5 separate regions of the Homo sapiens genome follow, and all the other regions are linked to region 1. The links are contacts of gene promoters, found by promoter capture Hi-C in human tissues and cell types (Jung and others, 2019). All regions are on one chromosome and are shown on one strand. Each heading gives the region's core, a stretch centred on a gene start or on the middle of the fragment in contact. The rest is flanking DNA. Distances are from core to core; before and after follow the strand shown.

Evidence for each region. The method cuts DNA at HindIII sites, captures the fragments that hold promoters and counts their contacts. A contact is called where the count stands out against the background at its distance.
Region 2: a contact is called between a fragment that was not itself captured here and the fragment with the promoter of NEGR1 in region 1, in 3 of the 25 tissues and cell types used here (H1 embryonic stem cells, aorta and spleen).
Region 3: a fragment that was not itself captured here is called in contact with the fragment with the promoter of NEGR1 in region 1 in 2 of the 25 tissues and cell types used here (H1 embryonic stem cells and mesendoderm cells).
Region 4: a fragment that was not itself captured here is called in contact with the fragment with the promoter of NEGR1 in region 1 in 2 of the 25 tissues and cell types used here (dorsolateral prefrontal cortex and hippocampus).
Region 5: a fragment that was not itself captured here is called in contact with the fragment with the promoter of NEGR1 in region 1 in 1 of the 25 tissues and cell types used here (dorsolateral prefrontal cortex).

Annotation. Positions count from the first base shown.
Region 1 is chr1:72,281,184-72,284,605 of GRCh38, forward strand. NEGR1 (neuronal growth regulator 1) reads right to left here and starts at 1,356. Exons shown (of 7, transcript NM_173808.3): 1 at 1,136-1,356. The coding sequence starts at 1,311. It overlaps LOC105378797 (a long non-coding RNA gene), which reads left to right and starts at 1,751. Exons shown (of 6, transcript XR_947506.3): 1 at 1,751-2,222. RefSeq lists silencers at 1,543-1,602, 1,703-1,792 and an enhancer at 3,174-3,422. The HindIII fragment of the contact is 4,654 bases long and covers 1-3,422 here.
Region 2 is chr1:72,662,705-72,666,137 of GRCh38, forward strand. All of the region lies in intron 5 of LOC105378797 (a long non-coding RNA gene), which reads left to right. Among named protein-coding and RNA genes, the nearest start is that of LINC02796, 100 kb to the right of the region's middle. The HindIII fragment of the contact is 5,002 bases long and covers 1-3,433 here.
Region 3 is chr1:72,597,767-72,601,258 of GRCh38, forward strand. The region is part of intron 3 of LOC105378797 (a long non-coding RNA gene); the gene reads left to right. Among named protein-coding and RNA genes, the nearest start is that of LINC02796, 170 kb to the right of the region's middle. The HindIII fragment of the contact is 3,828 bases long and covers 161-3,492 here.
Region 4 is chr1:72,567,929-72,571,535 of GRCh38, forward strand. All of the region lies in intron 3 of LOC105378797 (a long non-coding RNA gene), which reads left to right. Among named protein-coding and RNA genes, the nearest start is that of LINC02796, 200 kb to the right of the region's middle. The HindIII fragment of the contact is 5,169 bases long and covers 1-3,607 here.
Region 5 is chr1:71,843,459-71,846,984 of GRCh38, forward strand. The region is part of intron 2 of NEGR1 (neuronal growth regulator 1); the gene reads right to left. Among named protein-coding and RNA genes, the nearest start is that of NEGR1-IT1, 8.2 kb to the left of the region's middle. The HindIII fragment of the contact is 3,547 bases long and covers 197-3,526 here.

The DNA of each region.
Region 1 (3,422 bases), core at 106-2,605:
TGGAGGGAGGAAGGTAGGAATAAAAAGGGGATAGAAAGACACAGAAAGAGAAAAAGAGAGAAGCAGAGACAGAGTGAGAGCAGCGAGTGAGACAGGCAGTGTGTACACATGTGTGAGTGACAATGTGGAACAGAGAAGGAGAGTATGCCTTTTAAAAACAGTGAGAGACAATCTGAATGTGGAAGTGGTTCTTACAGCATGGAAGTGCCAGTGCATGTGAGGATGTGAGAGTATGTGAGTTAGTATGTTTATGGAAATAAGATTTATGAGGGTGAGTAAATGGTACTGGAGGGGAACAGTGACCATGCCTGTGTGTGCCACAGGGGTGGGAAACGGTATGGGGAGAGGGATGAGAAATGGGAGTCAAAAGAGGGAAGACAGGGCACAGGATAGGGACATTAAGGAGGAATAAAAAAAATAGACAAAAAGAAAAAAGGGTAAAAGAGAGGAGGAAAGGGGATTAAATGTGAGGAACAGAAATTAGAGTCGTGGAGATAAAAATGAGAAAATATGAGAAGAAATTTTAAAAAGGAGGGAAAAAACAGAAAATAGAAAAGGTATGAAAAGAGATATTGGAGGGAAAAAGAGTTACAAGGAGGTGGGGAAAATGGTATAAGAGAATGAGGAAGGAGAAAAGAAAGAAAACAGAAAGCGGTAAAAGGAAAGAAAGATAAAGAGCAAGAAATCGAGCCTAAGTGTCCAAGTGAGAGGGAAAATAAATGGGAGCAGAGAACAGCAGTTTGAAAGAGTCGCTTATGCTGGAGTAAAATAGAAACAAACCTGATAAACTTGTCAGACTCTCCAGGAGTACCCCATGACAGTAAAACAGAGACCTTGTGCATTGAGTTTCAAAGTGGCACCTGCCCCTCCTTCTAAACCTGACAGTTCACTCATCCCCAGGCTACTTGGCGTTCCGGCAAAGTGCTTTAGCATCACGAGTCCAGCTTGCTACCTGCCCCAGCATAAACGGGCCGGGGCTCCGGGAAGAATCTGCACCTGGAATTCTTGGGATGTGGTCTTTCCATGATGAGCACCACCAGCATTATTGCTTGTGTTATAAAGAAGGCAAAGAGGGTTCAAAGAGAGACAGAAAGATAGACCGAAACAAGTACGAAAAGCACGCCGTTCTTCCTACCTAAGCACCGCCGTGTCCCCTTTTCTGACCATCATGTTGTCCACGGCCGCCCAGGGGAAGTCCACACTCTGTCCAGCCGGGAGGCAGGAGGGTAGCAGGCAGCACAGGCTGAGGAGCACCGCCGCCAGCCACTGGTTCGAGCAACAAGCACCCTGCACCAACAGCATCATGTCCATCCCTGCTAGGGCTGCTCACTCTCCAGCAGCTTTCAGCTCGCACTCCCCCACCCCCTGGTGCTGGCGAGTCTTCCCGGGAACCAGGCGGCGCGCCACAGGATTTTTTTTTTTTTTTTTTTTTTTTTTTTTTTTTGGTGGGTGGGTGGGTTTCTTTTCTTTCTTTCTTCCCCCCACCCCAGTTGTTGGGTGTTGTTTCTCTCTTTTTGTTTTTCGGTGTTTTTGCCTCCCCTCCTCCTCTTCGCTTTCCCTCCCTCCCTCCCCTCCCTCCCCCTGGCACCACACTACACCTCCTCTCGGTTGCTTTTGGCCGCGTCCGGAGTGTGTCTAATTCTCGGGCGGCTCGCACACCATCTAGCGAGGAGGCGAGCGCGCCGGCGAGTGAGGGAGGAGGCGCGGCGGCGGGGGAGGAGGCAGGGCGAGCGGCGGCGGCGGCGGCTGCAATCCCAGCAGCAGCAGCAGCAACAGCAACAGCAGCAGCAGAAGCAGCGCGGAGCGCTGCGCCGGCCGCCGGCTCCCGGGCTCGCGCGCGTTGCCAAGCGGCCGTTTCCTTAGCAACCCCGCCAGGGGACTGGGGATGGAGAAGGGAGGGGGATTAAAAAAATAATAAAAAAAGAAAGAAAAAAGATAGCAAGAAAAAAAAAAGAAAAGCAAGACAACGAAAAAAAAAATAGGAGGAACTGTATCACAATTATGCAAACTAAGGGGGAAAGAGAGGCACCTTAGAATGAAGGCTCTCCTTACTGTCGTAAGCGCTAGAGGGATTCTTTGCTAGAAAAGTCTCCGTGTCAGGGCTGGGGTGAAGAGAGCTGAGGGGCGCTTTGCCTTCCCTCACCGGTGCGTTTTACCTCTCGAGGCACCGTAAGTTTGAAGTCCTCCAAGTTGTGGTCGGCGCCATCATGACGCCGGCGACTGTGAGTTGTTTTTTTGTTTATTTTCTTCTAATCTTGCCTGGGTGGCTACGCTGCAGTTAGCGAGCAGCCAACTAGTTCTCTCTGCGTTTTCTCGGGAATAGGTAGGGACGGTGGCGGGGCGCTGCTTTTTTGCGGGGACACGAGGAGGTGCAAGGCCTTGCGGCAGAGCAGCTTGCGTGTTTGTGGCGGTCGGCCCGTATGGATTGCAGGACGCCCCTCTTTTATCTGTGGGTGTTGACACTAAGTTGTGTGTGTGAGTAGGGGATTGTTTATGGTCAACATGGAGTGTGTGTGTGATAGAGAGCGTGTCGTGCGCGCGGGGGCCTGTGCACGCGCGGCACGCAGGCGCGCTGGGAGGGACGGGGCGGGTCATGCTGGGATGTAGAGTCGGGAAAAGACTGCAATCAAGTGTTTTAATTGTGTAGAGCCCAGGCGGTCCAGTTATGTAAGAGGCAGTTTAACCCATTTGAGCCTATCAGGCCGAATAATCGGCGCATCCGAGTCAAGGCAGGGCAGAGTTAAGGGGTTTAACGAGTCGCAGGGTTGTATTTCTTAACAGCCTCCACACCGCGTTAACAGGCTTGCTCCTCCGCGGTGCAGAGCGGTAACCTCCGCTTCCCCACGCAGCAGCCCCTCCGCAGCTCGCCGGGCTGTTTTCAGCCCTGCCCTGGCCCAAGGCAGAAGGAGATACTAGGCGTGGGGCCACCCCTACTCTTTTTTCTTCTTTCCTTCTTGAACTCATTTCCAGATTCAAGATCCTTAAGCTTTTCCGGGCCATTTGCAAATCAATGCGAGAACCGAGGCTGAGTCGTTAGCAGTTACACCAATCAATCTTGTTCAGCGAGGAGTTTGGGAAGCAGAGCGGGGAAGTGAAAATGGAAAATAAGTAATTAAAAAATAAGCTCCCTCCCCCTCACACACTTTTTCCCTTCCTCCACCCCATCCCCCTTTAGCAGTGTTTGAAGAAGATATTCTTTGCCAGATCCCAGTTCTTCTTTTGGAGGAAATGAAGCAAAACCTCACACGTCCGTAACTCGTTTTCCATAATGCTAGCAGGGTCATTTGGCAAAGCGCACCGAAGCAAGACTCTCTGCAGGGGTCAGCATCCGGCTGCCTCCGCAGACTGAGCTCTTTACGAGGCAGGCAGGGAGTCGTTTTGCTTGGTGGTAGCAGTGTTCAGAGTGATTTTTATCGCCATGC
Region 2 (3,433 bases), core at 320-2,819, 380 kb after region 1:
GGAAAAAGTATGAATGAAGTTCCAATTTTTTTGCATCACGATTAACTTGTAATAACTTGTCATAACATGTCTGAATAAGATCTAGTTTGAGGCACTCAAAAGCATAAGATATCAGTTTTAAAGGAGCCCCTATTAGAGCAACATGAATTCTGCTAAAATTGAAGCAAGACAAACATGAAATTTGTAGTGAAGCTTGGGTAGAAGAATGGTGAAATCACTGATGCTTTATGAAAAGTTTATGCAGAAAATGCCTTAAAGCAACCTGAAACAATACAAGTGGATAACTCATTTTAAGAAAGGACTAGACAATATTGAATATGAAGCCCACAGCAGCAGGCCATCCACATCAATTTACAAGGAAAAAATTCATCTTTTTCATGACCTCACTGAAGAGGAATGATGATTAATAGCACAAACAATAACCAACACCATAGACATCTCAGTTTGTTCAGCTTACACTGTTCTGGCTGAAAAAATAAAGTCAAGCAAACTTTCCACTTAATGGGTACCAAAATCATTACACCCAGTTCAGCTGCAGACAAGAGCAGGGCTTTCAATGGAAATTTTAAACATGGGGGATCAAGATCCTGAACCATTTCTCCAAAAATTTGTAACAGAAGATGAAACACGGATTTGCCAGGCAATCCTGAAGACAAAGCACAATCAAAGCAATGGCTATCAAGAGGTGGAAGTGGTCCAGTCAAAGCAAAAGCAAAGGTCATGTCAACAGTTTTTTGGGGGATGCTCATAGCATTTTGCTTTTTGTGTTTCTGGAGGACAAAAGAAAGATAACATCTACTTATTGTGAGACTGTTTTGAGAAAGTTAACTAACACTCCAAAAGAAAAGTGCCTGGAAAAGCTTTACCAGAGAGTCCTTCTTTACCACAACAATGCTCATACTCATTTCTCTCATCAAACAAGGACAATTTTGTTAATATTTTGATAGAAAATCACCAGGCATCCACCTTACTGTCCTGGTTTGGCCCTCACTGACTTCTTTTTGTTTCCTAATCTTAAAAAATCTTTAAAGAGTACTCAATTTTCTTCATTCAATAATATGAAAAGATTGCATTGACATGGTTAAATTCTCAGGAACCTTGGGTTTTTAAGGATGAACCGAATGGCTTGTATCATCACTTAGCTGTCTTAAGCCTGATGGAGCTTATGTTGAGAAAGTTTATATTATTTATTTACATTTTTTAATTCTATTTGCCAAGAACTTCTTGAAGTCTCCTCATACATTTGGGAGATGTGAGGATTGATATGGTTCTTAAATCTTGGAAATAGAATGGTTCCTTAAGTCAGAACATCCTGAGTGAGAGCAGAATTGGTCCTGGCACTGGTTCATGAGAACTGCTTCATTTATAATTTATGTTCTTGAGGTAATATTTATTTATTTCTGTTTTATATTTATTTTGTGAGTTTTGTCTTTCTATTTTTGTTTTTGAGACAAGGTCTCACGCTATCACTAGGCTGGAGTGCAGTGTTGTGATCATGGCTCACTGCAGCCTCGAACTCCTGGGCTCAAGCAATCCTCCCAGTTTGGCCTCAGGAACAGCTGGGACCACAGGCAGGTGCCAGCAAGCCCAGCTAATTTTTAAATTTTTTTGTAGAGACAGGGTCCCACTATGTTTCCCAGGTTAGCCTTCAACTCTTGAGCTCAAGTGATCCTCCCACCTCAGCCTCCCAAAGTGCTGGGATTATAGGTGTGAGCCACTGTACTTGGCCTATTTCATTTTAATATCAATTTATTTGAAACAAAAAAATAAAAGCTCTTATTTGAAAAATGTCAAACATTTATTTGGCCAATAAATATATTAGACTAAAACCCTTCAAGTCATCCTCTGGCCCTTTCCTTTCTATCACACACCATATTCAATCCATCATTCAATTCTGCCAAGTCTCCTGTCATCCTCATTTCAATGGCTTCACTGTCACCCTTGTCCAAACTACTATGACCTTTTCTCCAAGTAGAAATCAGAGAGAGTCTTTTAGAATAGAAGTAAAATCAAGTTACTCTTTTACTCAAAGTTCTCGAATGATCCCATCACACTTAGATAAAATCTAGATTCTTTTGGAAGCCTGAAAATTGGTGCTGCTCTTCCTGATTATGGCTCTAATTTCACCGCCTGTGACTTTCTTCATGGCTTGCTGCATTTCAGGCACACTGGCCTTACGAGTATTTCTCTAAGTCTGTTATTGCCTCTAGGCATTTATACTTGCAGTTACTTCTGTCCCTAAAGCTCATCCCTCACATATGCCCAAGGCTTACTCTTCATTCCTGTTTCTGCTCAAATAACAACTTCTTAGAGACCTTTTCCATCCACCCTATCTGTAACAGTGCTTGTTCTTCTCTCTCTACTATGTATACACTTACCAGGTTTTTATGTTTTCTATATTTCTTATTAACTAGTTCCATATTTACATGTTTATTTATCATCTCTTTCTCTCTTAGGAATATAAGCTTTGTGACATTAAGATTCTATTTTGATCACTCTTACTTTCAGTGCTAGTATGTGTCTAACACACAGTGGACATTCAAATATTTGTGCAGAAAAAACTATACGTATGTAAATGAATATATAGACTTTAATATTAAAGTCACTTATCTACTCAGTTAATAATTATTCATCATTTACCTACAATGTTTTCAAAATGAGTTATAAAACAGAAGATTTTCAACTTTCTTAAATCCAATGTGTGAATAACAACTCAAAACATTCTTATTGACAAATAATCTAGCGATTGCATTAATACTTCTCTCTAGTATTTCAGATGCTTGTCAAATCAACCTAGACAGATTTATTTTTAATTGTTAAGAGATGAACTTCTGGAAATATGTTTTCTATTTGTCACAGATGTGTCTACATGTAGTTAAACTTACAGTATTTACTATCTGTATTGGCCTGCACTTTCCTTTTGCACTAACAAGAATTTCTCCTTGACAGGGTTTTGCTCCATTGCATAATTCAGATGTTCATTAAAATACAGTGAGATTTTGCGGAATCCATTGAATACTACTTATGTTTTAATGAGCATTAATGAGCTTTGTGATTGTCCTGTGGAGCAAAACTCATATCTCATTAGGTGGATTCCCAAAATGCCTAAAGGTGAGCAGACATAGCTTTAGATATACAAGGTAATTTCATACTTAATTAGTTCCTTACTTGCCACACCACAGATACACATTCAGAACTATGGTTTGAAATGGCAAACTTGTTGTTTGCTGTGACAAGTCAATGAAATGGTAGAATTCATAGAAAGCCTTTGTAAGTATTTTAAGGCCATTCTCTATTATGTTAATAAATTGGCATGTTATGATTCAATTCACAGAAAATAGACAATAAGGAGAAAAAGTTAAATGATTCCAAACTTGAGTTGACATTGCTTGGTATTTTATACAGAATATGACGTTGTGAAATACTTACATTT
Region 3 (3,492 bases), core at 825-3,324, 320 kb after region 1:
AAAAAAGAAATAGAAAATCTAAATAGACTTGTAACAAGTAAAGAAGTTGAATTAGTAATGATAACAATAATTTTAAAAACATACTAGCTCCAGAGTGCTTCACTAATGAATTATATCAAACATTTCAGGATAATTAATACCAATCCTTCACAAATTACTTTAGAAAGTAGAAGAGGAGCTAATACTTTCAAACTTGTTCTATGAATTTAAATCTATTCATTCATTTTCACCTATTGATACCAAAACTTGTCAAACACATCACCAGAAAACCACAGATCAATATTTCTTATAAATACAGATACAAAATCCTCAGCAAACGGCCCAGCAAAACTATCCCAGCAACATCTATAAATAATCATATGACATAATAAATTGGGATTCATCCCAGCAATGCAAAATTGGATTAACATATGAAAATCCATCATTTAATATACCATATTAACAGCATAATGAACAAAAATCACATGATAATCTTAATAGCTGCAGAAAAATCATTAGAAAAAATCCAAGATCGTTTTATTTTAAAAGCACTCAACAAAGCAGGAATGGAGAGATGTATTCTCAACTTGATAGAGGCTATCAACACACACCCTACAGCTAACATCATACTTTGTGGTGAAAAACTAAATCCTTTTCCTTTAATATTAGAAAGAAAACAAGGATGTCTGCTTTTTCTACCTCCTTTTCAGTAGTGTATCTGAGGTTTGATCCATGTCATTTTGGCGAAAGGAAAGAAAAGACATCCAAACAAACAGGCAAGGAAAGATTAAAATTATCCGTATTCACAGATGACATGATCTTGTAGATACAAAATCCTAAGGAACACGTGCATACACACACACACACACACACTACACGCATACAGGCATGGATACACATACATACACACACACCAACTGGAATTTAAAAATGAGTTTAGCAAGGTTGCAGGACACAAAGTCAATATTTTTTTAAAATTGTATTCATATATACTAGCAATGAATAATTCAGAAGTGAAATTAAAACAATTTCATTTACAATAATATCAAAAGGAATAAAATTCTCAGGAATAAATTTGACAAATTAAAAAGAGGAGTGAACAATTAGTATACTGAAGCTACAAAATATCATTACAAATTAAGAAAGACCTAAATATATGGAAGAACATTTTATATACTTGGATCAGAAAACTTATTATTATTAAAATGGTGATACCAAGTTGATCCACAGATTAAGTGTAATCCCTGTCTAAATCTAAGATTCCTTTTTACAGAAATTGACAAAACGATCTTTAAATTCATGTGGAAATGCAAGAGGCTGGGCCCATAATTGCCAAAACTATCTTGAAGAACCAATTTAGGGGATTTGCACTTTAAAACTCACTATAAAGCTATAGTAATCAAGACAGTGTCTGTCGTATTGCCATAAGAGTAGACACACAGAATAATGCAGTTAGAATTGAGAGTCCATGAATAACCAATTTTACACTTATGGCCAACTGATTTTAGCACAGATGTTAAGAGAATTCAATGGGAAGTTAATATCCTTTTCTTTTCTTTAATTTATTTATTTATTTATTTATTTATTTATTTATTTTCTGAAAGAGTCTCACTCTGTTGCCCAAGCTGGAGTACAGTGGTACTGTGTCAGCTCACTGCAACCTTCATCTCCTGGGTTCAAGCAATTCTCCTGCCTCAGCCTCCCAAGTAGCTGGGATTACAGGCGCCCACCACCACACCTGGTTAATTTTTTTATATTTTTAGTAGCGACGGGGTTTCACCATGTTGGCCAGGCTGGTCTCGAACTACTGACCTCAGCTGATCCATCTGCCTCGGCCACCCAAAATGTTGGGATTATAGGCATGAGCCACCGTGCCCGGCCCATTTAATATCCTTTTCAATAAATAGTCCTGGGACAACTGTATATCCTCATGTAAATGAATGAATTAAACCCCCAATTTCAAATCATACACAAAATTTAACTCAAAATACACACAGATGTAAATGTAGGGGTTAAAATCTTAAGACTCGGCCGGGCGCGGTCATGTCTTCATGGTTCATCTATATTATAGTACATATTAATACTTCGCTCCTTTTTGTGGATCAGTAATATTCCATAGTATGAATATACCACTATCTCTTTTTGCATTTATCAGTTGAAGGACCTTTGAGTTGTTTCTGCTTTTCTTTTATATTGGTTTCGTTTTTGACTATTATAAATAATGCTGTTATAAATATATATTAATACATTTTTATGTATATGTGTTTTCAATTATCTTGTGTAAATAACTAGAAGTGAAATTGCAGGGTCATATAGTAACTTTATGTTAATATTGTGAAGAATTGCTAAACTGCTTTGCAAATTGCAAAGTGGATGAAATATTTTGGATTTTCCACCAGCAATCTATGATGTTTCTAATTTCTCCACAACCTTGCCAACATTTGTTATTGTCCATCTTTTTTTATTATCGCCATCCTAGTGAGTATGAAATGGTTTCTAAATATGCTTTTTATTTGTTTTTCCCTAACAATTAATGTGTGAAGCATCTTTTCATATATTATTGGCCATTTCTATAGCATTATTGGAAAATGTCTATTCAAAACTTTTCCCATTTAAAATTTTGTCTTTTCATTGTTGAGTTGCATACGTTCATAATATATTGTAGTTAAAAGTCTATTATTAAATATATGATTTGCAAATGTCTCCTATAAAAATAAATCTTCCATTTAGGTCTTTCTTAATTTCTTTTAGTGATGTTTTTTAGGTACTGTATACAAATCTTACACTTCTCTTGTTAATTTGTTAAATTTATCCCTGTGAGTTATCTTTTTGTTTCTTGAAGGGATCATTTGAAGCACAAGCTTTTGCTCTTTTAAAAAATGCAAAAAGAAATAGTGGTATATGCAAAAGTGATAAATGCAAAAAGAAATAGTGGTATATTCATACTATGGAATATTATTGATCCATAAAAAGGAGTGAAGTATTAATATGTACTGTAACAGATGAACCATGAAGGCCATATATTGTATTTATTTGTATAAAATATGCAGAATAAAAAGCTCCATAGAGACAGAAATTAGATTCATCTTTGTCAGGGAATGAGGAGAGAATGAGTGGAGAATGACTGTTAATACCCACAGGGTTTCTTTTGAGGTGATGAAAATGTTCTAAAATTAGACAATGGTGATGGTTGCACAAATCTATCCTAAAAAATCACTGGACTGTATACTTTAAAATAATGAATTTGTTGTGATGTAAATTAAATCTCAATACAGTTGATAAAAAGATCTTTATTATTTTTAGAAGTTATAACAAAAGTATTCCTTTTTTTGTTCTAAAATACATTTATCTGTCCAGTCTTCAACTTTTGGAGCCCCCAGTTTTTCCCTGTCCATGAGCCTCATCGTGCTTCCCTCTTTTCTTATCAGGCTTAAATATTGTTTTCCATTACAAGAGTGCTTCTCTTTCATATGTCCTCAACTGACCTGCTGTTATCTACTTTACGCAAACATT
Region 4 (3,607 bases), core at 700-3,199, 290 kb after region 1:
TTTTCCTGAATCTTTCTGTGCATACACATTCTCAAAACACTTTAAAAAGAGGCTGCTTTAATGAATGTACTATGTTTGTTGATTGTTTCTTTAAACAATAGGAGATAGAAGATGAAGGATTTAATAAGGGAGTTAGCTTAGTTTTAAACTGTAAAACTTATGTTTTTATTGCATATAAGCACATCTTTATAAATGAATTCAAAAGCATAATTCTGTGAGGCATTTGAAAACAGCCACCAATCCTCTGACATATGCTGGAATGTGGTTTGTCACCTGTAGAAAACTAATTCTGATTAGCACTAAGATTAGTCATTCTAGTCTCCACTGGGTTGCAGTTTTTAAGCTTCACTAGAATCTTCCCCAACTTTTGGCACCTGGGTGTTATGCATACCTGTGACCACAAACTGAAACTGAACCGATGAAATTGACATACTCAGAATGGAAACACTAATGTTGTCAGTTGAGGAGAAGGACTCTCAGAGGAGGACCAAGTTAATATGACAACTCCACTGAAGTGAATTACCACTAAAGAAAGACACTCTAGCATATGCAAATTGTTTTTCATTGTTATGCAGAATATCTAGAAGGAGAGAATACCATTAAGTTTCTTTATAACATCTGATATTATTTTCCTCAACATTCCTTCTAGCAAGTTTGCTAAAGACTCATCTTGGGGATTGTGAAATGCCAATGGTTTTAGGTGTCCAGACACATGAATACTCCAGAAAGGAAAATAGATGCATGTGTTAAAATGAGTGACAGCATTCTATCAGAATTATCTTGGGTATTAATATATCTTCCGGCCCAGATTCAAGGTAACAGCTAAACAACCACACCCCCACAGATAAACAAACATAGAAGAAGTAGATCTCTTCATACCATCATTTAGCTCTATTCTTCCCTCTCTTTGGGAACAGAATTTCCATTTCTTTGGAACAAAATGTAGTTTTCCATATCTTGCCCTCCTACTTTGTATTTTCCTGATTCATTTTTAAGGCCTTGGACTTAGTAAATTGTCAAGTTAATTGTGACATAATGAAAAATTGAATAAACTCAGGAAACACAAATAAATGTCTGGGTACTGGGGAGGTCCAAACTTTCTTTGGAATGTGTAGCACTCATATTTAGTAGAGACAATAGCTTTAGAAATGTGTTTGTGTAACAGAAAAAATGAAATTTTTTTTTCTACCTCACACCCCTCCTCTTTCATTCTTAGATGGGTAACTTTCCTCTTTCTCCATGGATGGCTCTGACTCAGGGAGAGGTTTGGAGTATAGTTTTTTTTGCTCTCCGAAAATATGTAAAAACCCATTTGAAGCCAGAGAAGGATTGTACCATGCTTCTGTACAAAGGATAAGGCAGTCATTGACACTAACTTATAGCAATATAATACACCATGAAAGAAGGAGAGTAAGGAATACACCATTTAAATAAAGGGTTTGGAAATGGAATCTGGTTCTTGAACCTTAATTGTATTCCACTAAATGACATTGATTTTTTTTAACCAGAGAGGATGGACTATAAAAGATTGTCCATATGTCACACTATAGGTTCTTTTGTCTTTATGACTGCTGAAAAACTTCCCCAAAAGCATTTTGGTGGAATATTTCTTATATTCCCAACAAATTCTTCAACCGCTCTCCAAATTATTGATGAGTTTATTCCTTGAACATAACTAAGACAGAGAAAAAGTTATTATCAAAAATATAGTTATACTTAAAAGATTTTGACTTTTCTGAATAAAGCAATAATACATGGTGCTTGATATTGCACCTATAATTTTACACCTCAGTGATTTTAATATAATGAACAATAGATATGTAATTTCAACTTTCAACTCTAGTAAGAGATGGGTTTGCCCCTGCCACTTGGAATTTAGATTCATGTCTATTATCTCATGCAAGGAAGTTTCCACATTGGAGTATGCTGGTCCACAAAATGTTCAAATTTGTGTGTTATTACCTTAATACTTGTTTTCATTTGAAGCATTTATTTTCTTGGTCAGTGAGAAGCTATCATATACAGTCCAAAAAATTTCTGTGTACAGATTTATTGAGAGATACTTCAGTTCAAACCAAAAAATAAACATTTTTATTAACTCTGTTAAATGGTCACTATCCCCAGAAGCAGTAGTTATCAAAATGTAGCTCCCAGAAGAGTAGCATCAGCATTACCTGGGAATTTGTTAAAAATGAAAATTATGAGACCTTAACCAGAAGTACTGATTCACAAACTCTAAGAGTGAGGTCCAGTAATCTGAGTTTTAATGAGCTCTCCAGATGATGTGTGGTCGGTGGGAGCCACTAATTATAAAAATAAAGTGAGTAGGATTGAAAACAAATTTGATATTCTTATATGTAGGGCAATAAAGCAGTAATGGAAAGTACCAGGAAAATCAAGTCACTGTCACATGTACCACATTAACTAAATTTAGATAATTAGTTGGCATAGTAATAGTTTCTAACTTTGTGGTACATTAAAGTTATCAAATTGCCTTCAGATACTTCACCATATTGGTTTCTCATCATAACCCTCTGAGTTAGCTAGCACAAACCAAATATTGTTTCCTTCCTATAAGAACACTCAAGATTTTGTCAAAAGGCAACCAGCTAGAGATGGCATTAGAATCATCTTCTGTCTTGGTCTCTTTGAAATTTGCTGTGGTACAATAAGACCCTTATGAAAAGGGACTGACTTAAAATATGGCATGTTTTTGTCCTGCATCAGTAATACTTTCATCTTTGGTTATCACTCTTAATATTAAGTGACATATTAAAGTGCATCAGAGAAAAGACCTTCACATGTTAAAATGTTCATGTGCTGCATTGTGTGAATTTTTTTAAGGAGATTAGCCACCTATACTCAGTACCTTAATGTCCATTTATTGTATTGAGGTACTGACATGTTTTACAATTGATAACAAAATGTACTTCAAGAAAATTGTAGTCTTCAGCTTTCCTTTGTAGGTGAAAACTCTAGTCAAGTCTCTATTGTTTTATTGACTCATAAGGTATTCTGTTGAGTGCCTATTTTATACCATGTCCTCTTCTAGGCACTAGGAAAATAAATGTCACGAGTCTCGCATTTTAAGAGCTTCCTTTATCTAGAAACAAAACAAGCCCCAGGAATAGCTAAGCCACTATCATCTTGCCCTGCAGTTTGGCAACAGCTTTCTCAACTGTCTTTCTGTGTTCTTTTCCCTGCTGCAATAGAAAATGAACCTTTTCAGGAATAAATGAGGTTATATCATTTCTCTGCCCAAAACCCTCTAGAAGATTTCCATTACATTTAAAGAATAAAATCCTAAGTATTAGTCTCTGACATACTTTGCCTTAAGTATCTCCTTATTGTTTCTTCAACATATTAAGCACATGTCCAACTCAAATCCTCTGAACCAGCTGTCATTTGGTCTGAAACATTTTTGCCCTAAAAATTTTCATGGCTCATTATTTTATTTCACTCTGTTTTCTATTCAAATAAGCTTTCTTAGAAAGGCCTTTCCTGACCAATAACTCTATGTAAAATAATCCCACACACTCCCAATCCAGTCACTTTCAAATCCTCTCACTTTGCTACTTTTCTTGTTCAAAGCACTTATGAATACCTG
Region 5 (3,526 bases), core at 720-3,219, 440 kb before region 1:
ATTTTTCCCAGTTACGTGCTGACTGAGACAAGTCCACTAAGCAAGGGGTTGTCAAAGGCCAGGTCTGTATCCTCTATCTGTTCCTAGTGTTAGAAGGGCTTTATCTCAGAACAAAATAGATTCTGAAACTTAAGTTACATTCTGTTATCACAGGAGACAGTTGATAACAATTGGGGTAGTAAAACATTCGTAATAGTTTTAAAGATGAAATGAGAAGAAAATAGTCTCATCAGTGAGATCCAAAATGAACTCCAAAGCAAGGACTTATGAAAATAAATTCTAGCTTAGCATTTAAAAAATCTGAAATTGACCTATTTTTATACCTCATTGTTTTTCTAATTAAAAAGGCATGAGATTCATTATCTATTATGAATAGAATCGCTCCATTAATTCAATATTCTAGTGAAATCTTAACATGTCTAATTGGCAGGAAATGTAAAGTTCAAAATTTGTGGACATGACAGCATGCTAGGGATATGAAATATCTCTCTCCCTACATTTGTTTCAGTTTCTCCAGAAAACCAGGCTAGCCTTCTTTTAATTGAACTGGAGAGGGAGGTAAAGAGAGGATGTCAGACCAATCCCAATGATAAGTGTCACATCCAATTGCCACCCTTACCAGAGGGAATAAAATTAGGTTAAGGGGACAGGTTCTGTATTTTTAAAAATTACCTGCCATGTATTTTTCCCCAAATGTCAGGTAGCAGCCTCTATTAGAGGTATACCATTAATCAAACTAATGAGAACTATGGATGTAACCATCCCTTAACAAAGACATAATGCCTCAATGGGGAAAAGAGCAGAATGCAAGAATTTTATGAAGTGGGCCTTCCTTTGTAAACACTTGTGTTTGAATCACACCATAGTGTCCAAATCAGGGCCTCCTGATCCTGACAACAGTGTTTAATGTTCCCTAACAGAGAGGGTCATAATACTGAATCAAAATCAGTTTTACTTATGGTTTTAATGGAAAAAATAACATTTGATTTGCCACAGTAAGGCATTTCAAAGCCATTCTTAATGACCTAAATCTTACTGGTGATCCTTCAGGTTTTGAAGAAGCTGCTGAAAAGAGAGGAAGTATTTGTAGGAAACTACAATCCTGCCAACAGTGTTCACATGGAAGCTGTCCTTGACCCGTTTGCACGTATTGAAACCACTCTGAGTTCTCCTGCTTTATTGTTCAATCTAGACTAGCAGGAATGGCATAAAATCAGGATACTACGCCTCAGGCTTGATAAGAAATTAGTTTCTCACCAGCCTTTTCAAACAGCTCAGGGTGACTTCAGTAGAAGAGAGAAGCAAAGAGTTTGGAGATTAAAGGAATGAGAGAAGTCAGATCACTAACACATGGTGACTGGCCTTGGCCCAACCCCAGGACAGAGATTGTCTTGTCTTCCTAGACATCCTGGTGGACATCCTTGAACAGACAGGCCTGCCCAGGGGGACTATCCAGGATATAGTCAAGAAAGTGCCTTCTATAGGAGTTCAGATTTGCAGACAGAAATTATTTCAGGTTTTGAACATATATATTAAAATGTTTTCTTAGTATGAGTTAATCTGAGGTCAAGGCAAATAGAGGTTTAATGTTAGGAATAATAGACAATGGTTCTTTTTCAAACCAATCAGAAATTGTTCTTAATAAATAATGACTTACATCATTTTAATTGCACAGTATGCAGTCACAAGGAAACATTTCCTGTGTTAATTTCTACATAGCGCTCAGAGAGTGTAGCTTAATTTTTGTTTTTATTTTTGATAAATAACTATAGAATTTTATATATCTACACAGAATATATTTCATAAATAAGTGCATAAATATGAAAGCATAAATAGTAACCAATTTGTGCATAAATAAGAAGGCATAAATCATAATCAATTTAATAAGTAATTAAAGTTATTATTATATTTAAAAATCAGATCTTGAGATGGGTAGGAGATGGTAAGAAAAAAGAAACAAAGTCCCACATAATGGACTCCATGAAGACTTTTGTTCTCAGGGGAAATCAGGCTGCCCCAATTTCTTCACCAAGTATCACCAAAATTAAGTAATACTAATGAAACTAAGTACTTAGAAATAATATTTATTGAGCACTGACTATCATGTCCTATTCTAAACACTTAACATTCAGCCAATTTTCACCACAACCCTACAAAGAGGTACTCTTCTTATCTCCACTTTTAAACAAATGAGAAAACTGAGGTAGAAAGAGAGTAAGTTGATCCAATTCACACAGCAAAAAGGACAATAGAGCCAGATCTATCTATCTATCTATCTACCTACCTACCTACCTACCTACATATCTATCTATTTATTTAGAGATGGGCTCTTGCTGTGTCACTCATGCTGAAGTGCAATGGCACGATCACAGCTCACTGCAGCCTCAAACTCCTGGGCTCACGGGATCCTCCCACCTCAGTCTTTCATGTAGCTAGGACTACAAGGGCATGCCACGGCACCTGGCTTTTTTTTTTTTTTTTTTTTTAAGAGATGAGGGTCTCACTATGTTGTCCATGCTGGTCTCAAACTCCTAGGCTTAAGCTATTCTCCCACCACAGGCTTCCAAAGCCCTAGGATTACAGGCATGGGCCACCACCCCCAGCCAAGAGCCAGATTTAAATCATGTGGTCTGACCCCAGGGCCTCTGTTATTCTCTCTCCTGCCAACCTGGAAGCCAGAAAGGTTGTTATTCTCTTCCTTACTCTAGGGCTGTCCTCTGAAGTTGAGCTGAATGGAAAGCAAGTTTCCCCCCCAACCTAATAAAAATTCTGCTCATAGAGAAGTGTTTAAATCTGATTCCTTTTCTAATACCAAGTACCTAGGAGTCCGATTAGCCACATCTATCTAACTCAACAAGAGGTCTTAACTACTTGTATGATTTATCTCCTTTGTTCTTCAGCACTACAAATACCCACCCACCCACCCACACACACACACACACACAAACACACACACAAACACACACACATGCAGGTTATGGAAGTAAAAAGATTGCTGACACATTTTCTAGGAATTGTTTCCTGGGGGAAAAAATGTGAATAAATAGTAAAGCTGACTCTCTCATCCTCTGGTTTCACTTCATCCCATACCCTTGAAGAACCCAGAAATTCCACACATATTACTTTCTAGCTGTTCTCTCTTTTCTTTACCACCCTATATATTGTCTTAGTCCATTCAGGCTGCTGTAACAAAAAGCCTTAGAATGGGTAACTTAGAAATATATCACAATTCTGGAGACTGAGAAATGCAAGATCAAAGTGGCAGCAGGCTCTGTGCCCGGTGAGGGCCTGTTCCTTATAGGCAGTGCCTTCTTGCTGCATCCTCACAGTGCGGAAGAGGCAAACAAGCTTCCTTGTGCCTCTTTGATAAATGCACTAATCTAAACCATGAGGGCTCTACCCTCATGACCTAATCACCTCCTAAAAGACCCATCTCTTGATACTGTTACATTTGGTATTAGGTTTCAACTCATGAATTTGCTAGGGACACAAATTTTCAGACCATAGCACATATTTAAACATTTAA